Linked DNA regions of Homo sapiens: all the other regions are linked to region 2. Evidence: promoter capture Hi-C in 16 types of primary human blood cells and fetal thymus (Javierre and others, 2016). All regions are on one chromosome and are shown on one strand. The core of a region is centred on a gene start or on the middle of the fragment in contact, and the rest is flanking DNA. Distances in the headings are between cores, read along the strand shown.

Region 1 (3,036 bases), core at 36-2,535, 920 kb before region 2:
GCACTTTGGATGTATTTTATTTTAGCATTTTAAGAAGTTACCTGGGACACTAGATCTCTTTCATGACCTCTGCCCACGTGAAGTGTTGGAGAAACAATGAAGTACAAGGTGTGAACTCTTCCTGGGGTCTAGCTGGGGAGCTGGATGCCCACAGTTCTGAGATACTGTAGTGTGTAGTATAACAGAGACAGGTACAAAATGCTATGGAGGGATAAAGGAAGGTGTGACTCACTGTAAGGGAGACTCGGGGAGAAGGCTTCCATGAGGAGGTGACATGAGATAGGTCTTGAAGGATAGTGAGTTTGCCCCAGGCAGGGAAGGAGTGGAGGGGAGGCATTTCAGATAGAGGAGTCAGTCTGTGAAAGATGTGTGGCTGTATAAGAGTAGGGCATGTTCATTCAATGTGGAAGAATTCAGCATGGTTGGAGTGCAGATAGTTGAGTAAAAGGAAACTGTAATGGGTAGGAGAAGAGTCTGGAAAGAGGTTGGGGCTGATTTGCAAAGAACCTTGATTGCAATCCTAAGTTGGAATGTGCCCCCATAGGTCAGTGGTTCTCAAAACGTAGGGCATCTGCCAGTGGTAGTTACACTGTGCTCCCACAAACATTTTAATTTTACTAGTTACATGTTCAAATATGTCTTAAAAAACATAAAACTGAACTAAGCCATCACATCTAAGATTACTTTGGATTTTACTTCATAAAAATAGAAAGTGAACCAGTTTTCAGTTCATTTAAAGACAAATATTAAGTAGTAATAGTACACATTGTGTGTGAATATGGTAAAAATCACTAAGTAATACTCAGACTGAAATTTGGGAAGTGCTGCTTGTAGGCCATAAGAAACCATTAACATGTTTTAGAAGAGCACCACGATCAGATTTTTACTGTAAGGAAAATGACAGTGGGAAGGATACAGTGGAGGTGGATATGATGAGGCTGCTACTCTGTTCCACAGAGAGACAATAAAGACCCAAGAGTAGTGACGTGAGCGGAGCGAAGAGATTTGAGAAACATTTAGGAGGTAAAATTATTAGGACTTGGTGGATGTTAATATTATTTTGTCAGTGTTACCAGAATTGTTTTAAAAGTCTGCATGCCCCCCTTGCCTCTTGTCCTTTATATTGTATGGTGAGCAATAATATTGCCAAAACATGCTATGTTTCTATGTTCATTAAGATTACAATGGAAGCTATAGTTACCACTCGAGTGGATTTGGATTACACACAAACATCCTTCCCACCTTACTCAGTGTCCTTGAGAGCAGTAGCACAAATATTCAAGGCACTGATTAGGAATATGACCATGATCTGTGACCCTTAGGCATGCAAGAAATTCCTCAGCCTTTAAGACTCAGCTCATATGTCAACACCTCTGTGAAGCCTTCCCGACAGCCCTTGCCCAACATACATGAATGCACGCACAAGGCAATGTTAGGCCTCGGGCTTCCACAGGACCCTGCACTTAGTTACCTCCGTCCTAGCCTGTACCACACTGTAGGGTGTCGGTCTGTGGATGTCTCTGTGTTCCCCACTAGACTGTGAACTCCTTGAGGGCAGGGACCAGGTTTCATTCATCTCCATACCCATAGCATCCAGAAGAGCACTTGACACATGGTAGTCACCTAATAAATGGTTATTGGGTGAAAAGAATTGATAAACAGATTTGCATGAATATAACTGGGGACCTTGGTAGCACAGAGTGCCAAATGCTATGAAAAGACTAGCTGTTTGCTACATTTGCTACTTTTGCTGAAGAAAGGAGTAAATTAAAGTGCCCATAATTTCATGAAAGACCTACTTTTTCCCTCTTTTCTTCACTCTCCCCTGGTTATCTTACCTTTTTCTTTCCTATCATTTACCTATCCAGGCACCTATTCCTTAGCCCTGCCCATTACTTTGCTGCTCTTGACAGAGTTCATCTTCCTCCTGCCCTGATACTTTGCCAGGAAACATCCTTCCTTCTACCCACCCAAGTCCAGTACACTCCGTCCTTGACATCACTCTCAAGTTCATCTCCTACTCATAGACTCTGCTGCTGGGACTATAATTTGATACAGCTCTTCTGGAGAGCAATTCGTCAATATGTATCAGAAACCTTAATAGAATACAGCTTTTAACCTACCACTTCAACTTCTAGAGCTCTATGCTGAGGAAACAATCATGATGTTTCCAAAAATTTAATACTCAGGACATCTATCCCAGAGTTGTTTATACTAATAGCAAAAACAACAAAAAAAAAAAAAAGAAAAAAAAGAACATCTTAAATGTACAATACTAGGGATTTGAATGAAATCAATTGTGGTACATTTATAGAATGGATTACTAAGTAGCCTTGTAAGTTGATTTTACCAAACAATATTTAATGATGTGGAAAATTGTTTTTGATATATTAAGAGAAAATTCACATCATAGAACTCTCAGTACAGAGTGACAGATCCCAGTTTAAAAACATATACATAATACACACACACACACGCACACACACACGCACACGCACACACACATCTGTGTAGGCATACATAGGAAAAATCCTGTAATGGTAAACACACAAAAAAATATTAATAGGGGTTTGCTGCAAGTAGTAAGATTGCATATGACTTCTACTTTTAACCTTTTGCGTATTTTTATTTTCTAATCTACAGTATATTTGTTAATTTTTAAAAAGTTATTTTGACCAGGCACAGTGGCTTAACACCTGTAATCCCAGCACTTTGGGAGGCCAAGGCAGGCGGATCACCTGAGGTCAGGAGTTTGAGACCAGGCTGGCCACCATGGGGAAACCCCGTCTCTACTAAAAATACAAAAATTAGCCGGGCGTGATGGCATGCGCCTGTAATCCCAGCTACTCGGGAGGCTGAGGCAGGAGAATTGCTTCAACCCAGGAGGCGGAGGTTGCAGTGAGCCAAGATTGCACCACTACACTCCAGCCTGGGAGACAGAGTGAGACTCTGTCTCAAAAAAAAAAAAAGTTATTTTAAAATGTTTTCCCGGTGTCCACCATTGTCTTACTTTGGGGCATACCTTCCACCCCCCAA
Region 2 (3,141 bases), core at 138-2,637:
GGCCTGCTGTCCGTCCCTCACGCCCCTTAGGACCCGGGGTGGGGGAGCCCTGGGGTTCGCGGCCATCCCTCTCCCTCCTTCTCCAAGGGCCGGGGGATTGCCCCTGATCCCGAAACCCGGCCCCGTAACCGGAGCCTCCCTCCTTCCAGCCCTCGGCTTCGCTCGCCGACCCCTTGCCTCCAGGCCTGGCGCGAAGCGGGTGGAGGGCTTGCACGCCGGATCTCCCCTCTGGCTTGCCGGTGCTAGTATGAATTGCCCCCGATCTCATCTTCCTTCAATTTAAGCCCCCTCCCCGCCGCGCCCGGCCCGGCGGCCCCCGCCCCTAGAGCGAGGGCAGCGGAGCCAGGGCGCTCCGAAGTCATCCCCCGCCTTTTTTCCAGGGACTCGGATAATTGCCCCTGCCCCCATCACAGCACTCCCACTCCCGAACCCAGGCCCCGCCGCCACCTAGGGGTACCCCTTACCCTACGATTCCCGCACCCCAGCGCCGGGAAGAAAGCAGCCCTGAAGAGCACCCGTCGCACCTCCCCTCTGAGGTTGGAGGGCATTTTCTCCCGGTCTCTTCAACACTTCATCACGGACACCCCCCCCCCCCAAAAAAAAGCCTTTTCTCGCCCTGCCCTGCTAGCCAGCCTCCCTTCGGATCGTCGGATCCTTGGATCGGGGGTTGGAGTCAGGTAGTTAACAAGACCATAGCCTCCACCTCCCTTTCCGAGGAGTGGGGTAATTCCTATGGTTTCCCCCCCAGGATCAACCGACCCCCGTTTCCATGGAGACCCCCGCCCAGCCGGGAAGAAGACTCTCTTGGATCGTGGCGAACGAGTCTCACCTGGCTAAGAGAGAAGGGGGTCGAGAAGGGGGTAGGGCAAGTCAGGGGATGGGGTACGAAGGTGGGAAGTGGAAGGGAGCTGTCCCGAAGGGAGGGGCGAAGACATACCCAGCTCCAGGGAGCGCTACGTCCGGGGACACGAAGAGGACGGCGCCCCCGGGGGGCAAGCCGAGCGGCCGCAGGGAAAAGAAGGAACAGGGTTGGAGAAAGGCTTAAGATAGAAAGAAGCGGGTGGGGGGATACGAAAAAGCCGGGGAGTCAAAAGGGGTGGAGGGATTGGGGGAGAGAGAAAAAAGACGCACCTGTTCCCGGGTCGGCTCCGCGGGGAGGCTCAGGCCGCCACCCGGGCTCCCTCTTACTCCCTCTTAACCGCCACCCGCCTAATACTGCCCCGATCTGATGCCCCCCTCCGCCCCTTATCGCCACCGACCTCCTTCTCCTCTCTCTCGGCGGCGGCGGCGGTCGGACTCTAGGAACTGAGAGGAAGAAGGGAGGGCTCAGCAAAGCGGAGGAGAGACAGAGCCACACACTGGCAGCAGCCGCGGCGAGCGAAAGAGTGAGGGGGAGAGCGGTGTGTGTGTGTGTCTGTGTGCGAGCGAAGCCTGGTGGAGTGGGTGCCGGTCGCAGGGCTCGACGGGAAGTGGAGTCCGGCTGGGTCCGCGGGCGGCGCCAACCCCCGCTCCACCGGACTACAACTCCCAGAATGCGGCCTACGCGGGTGGGGGGGAATGGGGAGGAGGAGGCGAAGGGAGGGAGCGAGCAAGAGAGGGAGGGACGAAAGCAGGGAGCAAGCGGCGGCGAAGGGGGCAGAGCCAAGCAGCCCCGGTGACACTGGGAGGGGAGGAGAGGAGGAGGGGATCGCTGAGAGGACCGAGCGGATTCCGGAGAGGGAGGCAGCAGTGGCTGCAGCAAGCCGGGCAAAAAGCTAGACTCCTGGGAGAGGCGGAGGCGCTCAATCTGCGGGGCTGCAGGAGCCCCACGTCCCCCCCCACCTCGACGCCCCTCGAAGGGGGAGGTTGAGGAAGGGAGAGGGTCAGTGAGCCGCGGCCAAAGGGTTCTCTCTCTTTCTTCCAACGTTCTCCACCTTATGCCCCGACCTGACTTTCTCAGGCCACTGGTGCCGATCCAGTGTGCAAATCTCGAGACCCCAGATCTCCTCTGCCGGGCAGCGGAGAACAGACGCATTCAGTCCCCTTCTCCCAGGGGCCTGAGGGAGGCTCCCCTTGCAGGCAGGGCGTGACTCCCCCTTCTTCCCGCTCCCCCCCCCACCGTCGTCGCCACCCCCCCATCTCCCTCCCCGGAACCCCTCCCCTGAAGCCGGGGCTCGCCTCTCTCTCTCCCCGCCAAGACACGGAGTCCTTCTGGGGACGACTACCCAGCCCCCTCCCTTATACTGGGCCCCTACCCACCAGTATCCCCTTCTTAGCGTTGCCCCCTCACCGAAATAATGGTGGGGGCGACCCGAGTTGGACTGGTGGCTACTTTCCCTCCAAGGCTAGCCGTCCTTCGCCACGCCGACCCTGTGTAGAAATAGAGAAGCATATTAATACTCCCGTCCCCCCTCCCCCCCAGATTTGAATACCCGTGGAAGTGGCTCACAAGAAAGAGGGGTTGGTAGTGGAAGTGAGCTAGGGGTGAATCCCAATCTTCAAACCTCATCCCTCCCATGGAAATCCAGGTATTCGCCTTTTGCTTAAAAGCCATTAAATCGCTTGGGTGGGGGGTAAATTATCTAAACCCCAATGTCCATGCGACTCGAAGCGACGCTACCTTGTAGGAATAAGATACGAACTAGGTTGCCGCCACGGGAAGGAAAGTATCCCCCACCCCCGTCGCCGTCCACCCCCAAAAACACATACCCCTAGGAGAGTCAGATGGCTGAAGAAGGGGGAAGGCGGTGGGAGTGCTGGAGAGTAAAAGGACTGTGGCGGGGAGGGTCCGCGGCCCCCACTACGAGAGCAGAATCCAGATGCTAAGAGGTGGGTGGGGGGTGCGGCACAATCGCAGACTGTGTCTTTCCTCGCTTTTCCCGGAATCGCCGCCCGATCACCGTCTAACACTCGGAGTTGCTTACCACTCAGTCCCCTAGCCCCATTTGTGCGCGTGAGGCGGCCAGAGCCCGGGAAGCCCGGGCACAAACTCCGCGGAAGCTGGCCTTCGCTGCCGCCGCGCCGCCGCGGGCCTCCCTCCCTCCGCTCGCGGCCCCGCCGATCTACCTTCGCCCCCGGCCGAGGCCAGACCCCGCTCACAACTCCACGCCCCTACTCCACCCCCGGCTCTCCCTCCCCTCGCCCTCTCCCTGCGGGTCCGGC
Region 3 (3,361 bases), core at 753-3,252, 930 kb before region 2:
GAGAACCTCTGCTAGAGCAGTGCAGAAGGGAAATGTGGCGTTGGAGTCTGCACACAGAGTCCCTACTGGGGCACTGTCTAGTGGAGCTGTAAGAAGAGGGCCATCATCCTCCAGACCCGGGAATGGTAGATCCACTGACAGCTTGCACCGTGAGCCTGGAAAAGCTGCAGACACTCAATGCCAGTCCATCAAAGCAGCCGGGAGGGAGGCTGTACCCTGCAAAGCCACAGAGGCAGAGTTGCCCAAGACCATGGGAACCCACCTCTTGCATCAGCGTGAACTGGACGTGAGACATGGAGTCAAAGGAGATCATTTTGGAGCTTTAAGATTTGACTGCCCTGTTGGATTTTGGACTTGCATGGCACCTGTAGCCCCTTTGTTTTGGCCAATTTCTCCCATTTGGAATGGTTGTATTTACCTAATGTCTGTACCCCCACTGTATCTAGGAAGTAACTAACCTGCTTTTGATTTTACAGGCTCATGGCAGAAGGGACTTGCCTTGTCTCAGATGAGACTTTGGACTGTGGACTTTTGAGTTAATGCTGAAATGAGTTAAGACTTTGGGGGACTGTTGGGAAGGCATGATTGATTTTAAAATGTGAGGATGTGAGATTTGGAAGGGGCAAGGGGTGGAATGACATGGTTTGGCTCTGTCCCCACCCAAATCTCATCTTGAATTTCCATATGTTGTGGGAAGGACCCACTGGGAGGTAATTGAATCATGGGAGCAAGTCTTTCCTGTGCTGTTCTCGTGATAGTAAGTCTCATGAGATCTGATGGTTTTAAAAAGAGGAGTTCCCCTGTACAAGCTCTCTCTCTCTTTGCCTGTTGCTATCCATATGAGACATGACTTGCTCCTTCTTGCCTTCCTCCATGATTGTGAGGCTTCCCCAGCCACGTGGAAATGTAAGTCCAATTAAACCTTTTTCTTTTGTAAATTTCCCAGTCTTGGGTATGTCTTTATCAGCAGTGTGAAAATGGACTAATATAATGAGAAAAGACATGAGATGATAGGAGGAATTTAAACACAAAATATATATTTGATCATATGAAAGAATTAGTATTAATTTTACAGCTGTGATAACAGTATTTTAGTCATGTTTTGTTAAAAGTCCATATCTTTTAGAGATGCAGCCTGAAAATGTTGTGGATAAAATAAAATGATGTGTGGAATTTACTTATAATAATCCAGTTTTGTGGGAGGGGGTGAATGGGAGAACAGATGAAATAAGATTGAGTATGTGCTAACTGTAATTGAAACTAGGTAATGGGTAAAAGGGACTTCATTATACTATTACTTCTATTTTTCATTTGATTGAACTTTTCCACAATAAAAAGGAAAAATAAATACCCTCCTCCCTTCATTCTAAAACAGCATAGGTTTTGCGGCCATACAGAGTTCCCCTACTGATTAGCTGTGTGACTATAGAGAGGTTGCCTAACCTCCCTGATCCTCAGTTATCCTCACTTTCAAACGGCAATATTTAGAGACCTGCCTCACAGAAGTTGGAAGGATTAGATAAAATTCTGTTGTCAAGCACTCAGCATAGGGCCTAGCTAACATATAGCAGGTGCTCAATGTTTTCTGATTTCTTTTGCTTCTCCTATTTTTTTTAAACCAAGACATTTCCTAATTCCTCAATCAACATATAGATGGAATTTATTTTTTGTCTTTTATTCCCTATGGGACAGTGTTTTCTGAAAGACTCACCAACATGCTCCCCACCTGAGGACTTTAGAAGACCTGGAGATAGGGGTGGGGAGAAACGAGTAATGCTGGCATATCAGGACTCCTGGGGGCAAATGCCATTTTGTCCCACAAAGCTCTGGATAGAATAGGTGCCTAAAATGTGCTTACTGGCTGAGACAGTGGGTAGGTGAATTCTAGATTGCTTTTGTTTTGTTTCCCCATATTTGAAGGTGGATAAGGTAGAGATGGTGGTGTATATGACACTTCTCCTTCCCTTTTCTCCCACTGGCATCAAAGCCTACTTGACTCAGATTTGAAGTACTTAAGGATCCTCCTTCATATCTCTAATTTCACATCATATCACAATATTGGCAACAACTACAATTTATGGCATAATGATTAAAACCTTGAACATTGTCTCTGCCACTAACGCTGAGCCTCACTTTAACTTATCTGCAAAATGGGGATGCTACAAAGTGTGGCTGGAAGAATTAAATTTTAAAAAATTCATGAAAAAGTTAATAACACAGTCTGGCATGTGGTAAGTAGTAAACACTACCTTTTGATGCTGTTACAGTTGGCCTGTAGATCAGGGTCTTTACATATATTATCTCTAACGGTCTACACTCTTTGACTCCATCAGCCTCACCAGGAACCCAATTTTCCTGTGGGTGCACTGGGTCCCCTCAGTGCCTGCCCACTACAGCACTAATCATCTGGTCCAGCTTCACTTCCCCTCTCCTCCCTTCCAAACTGAACTGCCCAATTTCCTAGATCCCATCTCATTACCTCTTGTTGTCCACCAGGTGGCACCAGAGAATGCGAAAAGCCCATAAGCTCTGCACCAAACTTCCCAGAGGCGTTTGAATTCTGTGGGGGGCTTCCTGGACAACCAAACAAGACTTTGTTATGGGAGAAGAGTTTTTATTTTTTATTTAAGGTCTACCCCAAACCACCGTGCATGGGCCATCCTAGCCCATTGACTAAGGTTACAGCCCTGCCCATACTTTCATCCGTGTGTTTCCACCTTCCCTCATCCTTCCTTTCCAGCACTTGGGCCAGGAAGCTCTTCTCTAAGACAAAGTATCCCATTGCCACACTTTCAAAAGGCTGTATAAGTCCTCTTAATTCTTTTTGCTCGGGAAGAGTTGCTCTTCTAACCATCTCTCCCTATTTCCCCAAAGCCACTCCTTGGTACTTCCTGGAAGATGTCCCACTGAGGACATGTCTATGAGGCTGATAGGGGCAGAAAGAAAGATTAGTTAGCTATGGTTGGCTAGATTTCCAAGGTACCTTGACTCCAGAATTATATAGAACATTATATATAGAACATTATTGGAATAAAATGTTATTCCCAGGCAAGGCAGATCAAGGTGAGTTTCAGGGTACAGGGAAAGAATGAAGACAAGAAAAAAAAAAAAAAAACTCTGGCCAGGTGCAGTGGCTCACGTCTGTAATCCCAGCATTTTGGGAGGCCAAGACAGGTGGATCACCTGAGGTCAGGAGTTCGAGACCAGCCTGGCCAACGTGGTGAAACCTCGTCTCTACTAAAAATAGGCATCTCGTGGCAGGCGCCTGTAATCCCAGCTACGCGAGAGGGTGAGGCAGGAGAATTGCTTGAACCCTGGAGGCAGAGGTTACAGTGAGCTGAGATCGCGCCACTGCACACCA

Evidence for each region. The method cuts DNA at HindIII sites, captures the fragments that hold promoters and counts their contacts. A CHiCAGO score of 5 or more calls a contact.
Region 1: a contact is called between a fragment that was not itself captured here and the fragment with the promoter of BCORL1 in region 2, in 3 of 17 cell types (total B cells, naive CD4 T cells and fetal thymus). The highest score is 6.3, in total B cells.
Region 3: a contact is called between a fragment that was not itself captured here and the fragment with the promoter of BCORL1 in region 2, in 1 of 17 cell types (naive CD4 T cells). The highest score is 5.3, in naive CD4 T cells.

Annotation. Positions count from the first base shown.
Region 1 is chrX:130,897,946-130,900,981 of GRCh38, reverse strand. All of the region lies in intron 2 of ENOX2 (ecto-NOX disulfide-thiol exchanger 2), which reads left to right. Among named protein-coding and RNA genes, the nearest start is that of ENOX2, 3.7 kb to the left of the region's middle. The HindIII fragment of the contact is 3,898 bases long and covers 1-3,036 here.
Region 2 is chrX:129,980,881-129,984,021 of GRCh38, reverse strand. It overlaps BCORL1 (BCL6 corepressor like 1), which reads right to left and starts at 1,387. Exons shown (of 14, transcript NM_001379451.1): 1 at 1,260-1,387. RefSeq lists a silencer at 322-558. The HindIII fragment of the contact is 8,398 bases long and covers 1-3,141 here.
Region 3 is chrX:130,916,165-130,919,525 of GRCh38, reverse strand. No RefSeq gene overlaps it. Among named protein-coding and RNA genes, the nearest start is that of ENOX2, 15 kb to the right of the region's middle. The HindIII fragment of the contact is 4,302 bases long and covers 1-3,361 here.